3 separate regions of the Homo sapiens genome follow, and all the other regions are linked to region 3. The links are contacts of gene promoters, found by promoter capture Hi-C in blood cells and fetal thymus (Javierre and others, 2016). All regions are on one chromosome and are shown on one strand. The core of a region is centred on a gene start or on the middle of the fragment in contact, and the rest is flanking DNA. Distances in the headings are between cores, read along the strand shown. Region 1 overlaps MAP2K5 (mitogen-activated protein kinase kinase 5). Region 2 overlaps MAP2K5 (mitogen-activated protein kinase kinase 5). Region 3 holds the start of MAP2K5 (mitogen-activated protein kinase kinase 5).

Region 1 (2,800 bases), core at 149-2,648, 230 kb before region 3:
ATTGAAATGGTACCCCAGTATTGTATTTAAAATACAACCAAAGATAAAAGTTATTTACTGAAAATCCGATGAATTAATAAACTATGCTGCTTCCACTAAGTGACAAGACAGTTTTATGGGTAACTTGAGGTTACATTAATAAAAATAAGCTTCGTACGTCCGTTCAGTAGGGGCTATAAAATTGTGTATTTCTTTTTTTAAAAAAGGATGGCAACAGTATTTGTGCTTAAAGAAGTATCATGACTTTCAGCAGTTTATTAAATCAGGAAAAAGGCTCTGAAGTATGCTTATGACCCTTTGTGTAAATAACGTTTACATAATTTAAACAATTTCTTCAGCTTTGCTGCCCCATCTGCCCAAGGCCCCGAAGTCCCTCCTGTCTCCAAAAGGATGCAGGGAGAGCCATAAGGTCTCACGGAGCTGCCGAGTTAATGGCATGTATCATTTACATTGAGGGCATGGCATGTTTGTAAACGGGCTCACCACTGAGTGATGAAATGTACAAATGGCTCCGAGAACTCTCCAACTGGAAGGACGGGCGAATCCTGTGATGGAGGAAAAACATGTCACCAAAAGTCACAACAGTTCCTTCTCTTTCTTTATATTCCCCACCCACCCATGTGAAGGATGAGTATAAAGATGAATACAATGAGAATAAGGCCTCACCCAATTAAAAAGACTGTCTTTACCTTATTCCACACATTTAGGTAAAGATGCCAAATTTAAAGCCACACATATTTTACAATGGTGAGAAACATGAGAGCTGAGAGAGGGGGAGGTGAAAAAAGGACAATGATAGCCACAGGGTAGGAGAGAAGGTAGGGAAAGTGTAAATGAGAAATTAATGATTATTTAAGTAACACACAAATGGTCTTGTAATTAACAAAGAGCTGTGAAATTATTCTTGTGTTGACCTTTGTTTCTTTTACTGGATTTGCTATTTATTTACACTTTCCTTTTTATTTACATTTATTTGTATATTCAACTGCTCTTTACTGTTTGCCCCTAACAGAATAATTTGGATCAATTTTTTTTTTTTACTTTAATAGAAAGGCTTTTATAGGGGAAGTTGTTTCCTGAAAAGGAATTTCAGCCTATTTGCCAGTCTAGGCAGACTCCTCATATGAGAAAGCCAGTGAATTAAGGATACAATGAAAAACTCCCAACTTGACCACCAACCAAAACTAGGATGGAGGTGGGAGTCAGTCAAAAAAGCAGAAAACTACACAGCAACAAACAACCACCACCACATAATACAAAGAGCAAACCCCATTACCGTTTGCAAAGGAAGGCTTTAAGAATTTAGGAGTTTTTCCAAGAATGACAGAGAGCGCCACTGTGTTTATAGTGTAACAGCTCAGGATGTAATAAAATTACACTGCAGAGTACTTTAACAGTCATCTCATTAGACCTACAGTTGGAACAAGAGAGCCACATAAAGTAGGCAGCTGCAAATGACTCCATTCTCATCTATTCTCATTTGCTATTAAAAATACCTTTCGGCGGCTTTTTTCCTCCCTGACATCCCTACACAAAGTGCCCTGCAAAGTATGATACATGCACCTATTTAAATTAACAAAGGAATGACTTATTTTAATCTCACTGTGCTTTGGAGTGCTTTGGCCATTTGGATGAGCAATATATCATTACATACAACCTTCCAGCGCTGCAGGCAAGAAACTCAGAGCATGCAGCATTTGGTGGGAGCCAAACAATTTCTCTAGCACACAACTGTGTCAAATGCATGCATGTATTCATTATTGAGAACGAGAGGAAATAGCTTTGATGTAGTGGAAAAAAGAAGATGATAAAAGCACCTCTGCAATATGCGTGTCATTATCAATGGTGGCAGATAGATACAATTGCACAGCCTCCTATGTGATTAGTAAATATACATATAATTGCTGTGGCCAATTATCAGAAAAATGAGATCGGTAATTACAAGACAGAAAATTAACTAGAACTCTTATTAAGGCTTTGTTTCCAATTCAAACAATTGGAAAGTGCTGGAAAATACAATTAAATCAAAAGGAACTAAGGGGGTCAAGGCAGCCAAAAAACAAACAAAAACAACAAAAAACAGACAACAAAAAACACCGAAGAGGCTACAAGAAAAGAAACATGAACAAAATGTTTCTTGGTTTTTGCATATCTGTCCTCTTTAAATTTAATCTATTCATCCAGAAGAAGGGATGGTTAGCAATTCTAAAATTAAAATTCTCATCAGTAGAGAAGGGTTAAGAGGAAAAGAAAACAAAGGAAAAATGGGAGTGAAATAAAATCTTGCCAAGTTCAAAGGATTACACGCAGGCATTACACAGAGACGACATGAAAAACGGAGGTGGATGGGTGGCTGATCAAACAGTCCACTCAAAAGAAACAAGACACAAAATAGCATGACAAGTCCTCAATAAAGGTATATAAAATGGCCACAGAAGTCCCATCGGTTTGAAGAGCAAAAATAAAACATGATATCAATTTCAGCTGCAGCCTGTTTTAGGAAAGCCATATATATCACCAAGCCTGTAAGATTCTACAAGGCCCAGTTCAAGAAATGACATTTTACTGTCTCAAAAACCATTAGTAAAAAGATAGTTCAAAGTCTGAGGTGTAAAAATGATGGACTCTGATCAGTGAGGAAGCTTCTCTAAGTCATCGCTTCATGGATTTTTTTTGAGGGTGTAGTACTGAAAGTATCTGAGTAGTAGTTGCTGTAAAATGCAATATTTAGGAAAATAAAAGCCTGCTATCTTAATGTCGTTCAATATTTACCAAGATGGTTAAAATTCTGGACTGGCTT
Region 2 (2,700 bases), core at 186-2,685, 250 kb before region 3:
ACTTATCATACTCCTTTTCTAAGGAAACTTTTATAACACCTAACACATGTTCAGCACTAAGTGTGGCAGACATTAGGACACAGGTTTTTTTTTTTTTGTTTGTTTGTTTTTATGTGACTGGCTCTCCTGACAGCTGCAGTAGAGAATTAAAGGCTGCTCTCCACATCTTAAAGACCCTCACCACTCAGTAAGCAGCCCCTCCTCTGAGCCTCAGCCCTAAAGACCCAACTTGCTCCCCATTTAAAACAAGAATGAGCAGACTTCTGGGTTTAGAATTCCATGTAACTAAACCACAAAATAGAAAAAAGGAATCCCAACTGTTGCACTTGTGCACAGCCTACAGACAAGACGGCAGTGCCCTCAGACAGCATTTCAAATACAGTTTATTAGTGTGTGATATGAAAAGGGTATTTTTATTGCATGATATAATGCAATGGGACCTTGGGCGCTCTGTGGAAAGACCTCACACTCAGAAGTGTAATGAACCCGTAGTCCCAAAAACATTATACTGTACATTAACCTATCATTAATGGCACATTAGGGCTAGGGGCATTGCACGCTTGCTGGTCAGGGCTCCATCAGGACAGTGTTGAGAAAACCACACAGTCTTCCCAGGCTTAAAACAAATAGAAAAAATAAATATTCCTGATGTCTACAGGCTGCTTTAAAGGAAGTTCAATCCAGCTCTGCCTTGCAATTTCCAAGCCTGCTTTTTTAAGAGTGGAAGAAAGATACACAACCAAACAAAGGGAAAAGAAAACGACTCTCTTGTAGTTTACCCCCAGCTATTGGCTATTCAACCTCAATGTTGCTTGACAAGGTCATGAGCAAATAGCACCTTGGTAGTGTAAAAGCTGCCCAAAGGACACTCGGGCCTGGACCACAGACTGCAGAAGTGGGATGGGGCCTTGGAAATTGTGTCCACCCCCTTCACTGTCTAGATGGAAAAATCAATCTTCAACAAGATGAAGGAAGAGACAACACATTCAACAGAAAAACAGGCAAAGAATGTGAAAAAAAAAATGTGACCAACAAACATATGAAAGAAGTGTTAATCCTCATACTTAATAAAATAAACATAAATTAAAATGATTAGATCCTTTTTTTTTTTTGAAACAGAGTTTTGCTCTTGTTGCTCAGGCTGGAGTGCAATGGTGCGATCTCGGCTCACTGCAACCTCCACCTCCCCGGGTTCAAGCAATTCTCCTGCCTCAGTCTCCAGAGTAGCTGGAATTACAGGGTCCCCCCACCACACCCAGCTAATTTTTGTATTTTTAGTAGAGACAGTGTTTCACCATGTTGGCCAGGCTGGTCTCGAACTCCTGACCTCAGGTGATCCACCTGGCCTCCCAAAGTGCTGGGATTACAGGCGTTAAGCCGCCACGCCTGGCCAACTAGATACCATTTTGCCACTGATTAGGTTGGCAAAGATTAAAATCTGATAATTTAGTATCAGAAGAGATGAAGAAGAAGAGCTAACATTCTCATATCCAGTATACAAAGATGTATACATAGAGACACAGTCACTGTCTTAATAACAAAAAAATATGGAAATGGTCAAAATATCCTATGACAGGGTCCTGGATAAATAAATATGATACATCCATAGTATGGAATACTATACAGCCATTAAGAATAAGGTTGATCTTTATATTATATGGAAAGACCTCAATGACTCACTAAGTAAAAAAGCAAGGTGCAGAATAAAAAGAATTAAAAATTCTAGAAGGATACCCAAGCTACTATTAACAATGCTTATCTCTAGAGATTAGGGCTGGAAGATATGGAGGATTGGAAGGAGACTAACTTCTTACTGTATATCCTTCTGTACTGTGTAATTTTTTTTTTTTTTTTTTGAGACAGGGTCTCTCTCTGTCACCCATGCTGGAGTGCAATGGTACAATCATGGCTCACTGCATCCTCTACCTCATGGGCTCAAGTGATCCTCTCACCTCAGCATCCTGAGAAGCTGGGACTACAGGCAGTGCCACCATGTCCAACTAGTTTTTAAGTTTTTGTAGAGACAGGGTCTCACTATGTTGCCCAGGCGGGTCTCGAACTCCTGGGCGAAAGTGATCCTCCTGCCTCAGCCCCCCAAGAGCTAGAATTAAGCATGATCCACCATGTCTGGCCAAATTTTTAATCATAATTTAAAAACTAGTTTTAGCAAATAAATATGGATGATGGCAGGAATAAACATTGCTTATGAACCTATTATTTTCCAACTACTATATTAAGTGCTTATGTGCTTCACCTTATTTGCCTTTTTACAAAAACAGTAACAGTAAATTGGTCACTATTATCCCCTTTCCATGCAGTGGGTACTAAAGTTTCCAGGGGTGAAGTAACTTGCTCAAGGTGACTCTCTTACCCATCTACCTTCAATAATGAAGCAGAGTATTTATAAAATAGAGAAATACTTTCCAAACTTAAGACAGCCTGAGGCTACCTTCCTGGGGACAGCCTGTATAACCCAGCAGTGATACAAGGAGGTGAGTGGAAGGCAGGACAAAAGGCTGCTGACTGGCTGAGGCCAAATCAAATTTCTGGAAACATCTTATCTCCATATAAAAAAAAGGGGAGAAGGCCTGGGGGCCCCAGAGCTATACATTGTTTAAGTAAATAATGCTTGCAACCAGGGACTCAAATATATAAAGCAAAGTAGTTCCCTAATTACATATAAATCAACATCAAAGGCAA
Region 3 (2,700 bases), core at 23-2,522:
CGTGCCACAGCACTGCAGCCTGAGCGACAGAGTGAGGCCCTGTCTCAAAATAAATTAATGAAACAGTGTGCTCAAACATGGTAAGTTAAAGTTGTCCTTTTTCCCTTTCTCAGCTGGTCACCAAGTTCAGAGAACTCAGTAGAAAAACAAGGCTGGAATCTGTCCAAGGACATTCCCCGAAACACTTGGGGGGAAAAAACCTCTCTTCTAGATTCAGCAGTTTGCATTTGCGTGGTTGTGTCTATATGTGTGTCCCAGCCCGGGCCATGAGCTCTCTGAGGGCAGGGGTTCAGTCAGATTGATCTATCTCCCCAGGGTCCTAGACATTTGCCAGGTTTTAGTGGTTGCAATTTATCAATGCTGTGCCTGAAGCAATAAAACTGCCTCCACAGGAAGCCAGCAGTAGCCATTGCCACTGGCTCAGGTCACCAGTGGTCAAGGTGCTGACTACTCAAGTCCCTGAGTCCCCCTTGCTGGCATCCGGACACTGAGATTACCACTCACCAGCACATCCCTGAAGAGTAACTGCGGCCCGGAGTGCACTGTCCAGTCCACCGCGCCACTATTTGGGATCTTGATGCGAATTACCAGCACCTGGTTCTCCATGGCAGGAAAGGGGCCAAGGGCTAGCCACAGCATTACAGGTTAAAGAGGCTCACATCCTGGGGTATGGGAAACCCACTGGCCGCTGGTTAGGAGGGGGCTCCAAGAGGTGACAAGGGGAGTGACGGGCAGAGGACAGAGGGTGAAAACAAGGGAATGGAGGATGAGGGGGAGGGAAGAGGGGAGGGGTGATCAGGAACGCACCCGCAGGCACCGAGCCTGCCCAGGCTGTCGGGGGTCTGAGGTGTCTCCCGGGGAGGGTGCACCGGGAAGCGGGCAAAGGCCCGCAGGAACTAGCGGAGGTCGGAAGGTTCTGGAGTTGAGCGAACGCTATGGTGAAGGTCTCTGCCGCCGTGTGGGTATGAGGAGGCAGCAGGGCAAGGACTCGGTTTGGGGGAGATACAGCGGCAGGTGTCCACCGCTCGTCAGTGGACTAGGAGAGGGTCCTCGACTGGAGGGGACTCAGTCCGGGGCTATTAAGAAAGAGCCCCAGGGCCGCCACACCACGGAGAGTCCCCGCGGGAGGTTCAAGGGGCGAGTCTTCTGCCCCACCCGGAGACACAGGGCGCGGCGCGCGCAGGCTGAGCTCCGGCCACCCGAGGCCGCGCGGACTGGCGGCGGCTGCGGCGGCGGCGACGGCGGTAGCGGCGAGAGGAGGAGGAGGAAGGCGGCGGCGACACTGTTACTCCGGAACCAAAACGCGCGGCGCCGGAACCCCGGGAGCCGACGAGCGGGACCCGCCTCCCGCGGCGCCATGTTGGAAAAGGGCAGCAGCTCCCGGGAGGATGCGCCCCCGGCGTGGGAAGCCGAGGAACCGGCGCGCGGCGCGCGGCGCGTGGCGCGTGGCGAGTCGGGGAGAGACTGGTCTTGCTCGCTCAGGAGACCCTCATCGCCCACAGAGCGCCCGCGGCGACCCGGTCACGGCCCTTCCATTTCCTGACCCTGCTTAATGACAGCGAGGTGAAAACATCTACCAAACGAAGGGTAAAAGGCTGGAGTCCGCCAAAAGCCAATTTAAGGCTTAACATTGCAGACCGTTTGTCTTTACAAAAGCTTCAAAGACGGGGCTGCAGCTCCCGGTTATCCCCACTTTGTCAAGCCATGAATCTGAATGTTCGTGGGGTTGTGTGCATCGAATCAGCAAGAGCAAGGCAAGAATTCAAGAAATAGTTCTTTTTTATCCCCCCTTCCAAGTCACAGGTTCAGAGGATCATCATCTTTCTCCCACATTAGCAAAACATATTTGCATTTTTCAGTGAAGTTCTTTACCGCACGAGTGCCCTAAAATAGCAAACAGTTCCCTGTTCAAAAGCAATAGTAAAGAAATTCGCCGAAGAGTTTAATTGCCTGGGGACAGCTGCAGTAGTCGCATCATCGTCTCTTATTAAACTGTTGCAGAAATATTCGGTCTAGTCCATGTATTTTCAACTAAATAGCACTGCTTACGCAGTTGGTGATATGGTGATATCACGGAAGTAGCAATAAACCTTGGTTATCTTTTTTTTTTTTTTTTTTGAGACGGAGTCTCGCTCCGTCGCCCAGGCTGGAGTGCAACGGCGCGACCTCTACTCACCACAACCTCAGCCTCCCGGATTCAAGCGATTCTCCTGCCTCAGCACTACCACCCCCACCAGCCCCCAACCCCTGCCGAGTAACTGGGACTACAGGCGTGCGCCATCCGTGCCCGCTCATTTTTGTATTTTCAGTAGAGACTGGGTTTCACTATGTTGGCCAGGCTGGTCTCAAACTCCTGACCTCGTGATCCGCCCACCTCAGCCTCCCAAAGTGCTGGGGGGATTACAGGTGTGAGCCACCGCGCCCGGCCAACCTTGGTTATCTTCAAATGCCTTGTTACCTCAGATTTTAAAGTGCATAAGGTTGTAGAACGATGGTGCCTCTACAGAAGTTTCTTTACAAATTGTAATGTGTAGGTTCGTCCTTTATTTCTTTCTTATGAAGGTGCACGAATTGGCTTTACTTTCTGGGGTTGAATTTTGTATAAACTCGGTTGAGGAGGCTTGTCAGTTTCCCTTCTAACAGTAAGGTGCTTGATTAATGTGAGAGAAAAAAATTAATGTTGGTCATTTTCAGTTACAA

What was found. The method cuts DNA at HindIII sites, captures the fragments that hold promoters and counts their contacts. A CHiCAGO score of 5 or more calls a contact.
Region 1: a fragment that was not itself captured here is called in contact with the fragment with the promoter of MAP2K5 in region 3 in 3 of 17 cell types (activated CD4 T cells, fetal thymus and total B cells); the score reaches 5.4 in activated CD4 T cells.
Region 2: a fragment that was not itself captured here is called in contact with the fragment with the promoter of MAP2K5 in region 3 in 2 of 17 cell types (M2 macrophages and fetal thymus); the score reaches 5.3 in M2 macrophages.

The regions. Positions count from the first base shown.
Region 1 is chr15:67,767,347-67,770,146 of GRCh38, reverse strand. MAP2K5 (mitogen-activated protein kinase kinase 5) reads right to left here. Exons shown (of 22, transcript NM_145160.3): 20 at 484-545. Among named protein-coding and RNA genes, the nearest start is that of SKOR1, 57 kb to the left of the region's middle. The HindIII fragment of the contact is 2,493 bases long and covers 152-2,644 here.
Region 2 is chr15:67,788,128-67,790,827 of GRCh38, reverse strand. The region is part of intron 21 of MAP2K5 (mitogen-activated protein kinase kinase 5); the gene reads right to left. Among named protein-coding and RNA genes, the nearest start is that of SKOR1, 36 kb to the left of the region's middle. The HindIII fragment of the contact is 3,625 bases long and covers 1-2,700 here.
Region 3 is chr15:67,541,275-67,543,974 of GRCh38, reverse strand. It overlaps MAP2K5 (mitogen-activated protein kinase kinase 5), which reads right to left and starts at 1,272. Exons shown (of 22, transcript NM_145160.3): 1 at 505-1,272. The coding sequence starts at 639. It overlaps MAP2K5-DT (MAP2K5 divergent transcript), which reads left to right and starts at 1,345. Exons shown (of 1, transcript NR_186334.1): 1 at 1,345-2,700. RefSeq lists a silencer at 1,137-1,256 and enhancers at 2,130-2,179, 1,832-2,332. The HindIII fragment of the contact is 6,106 bases long and covers 1-1,658 here.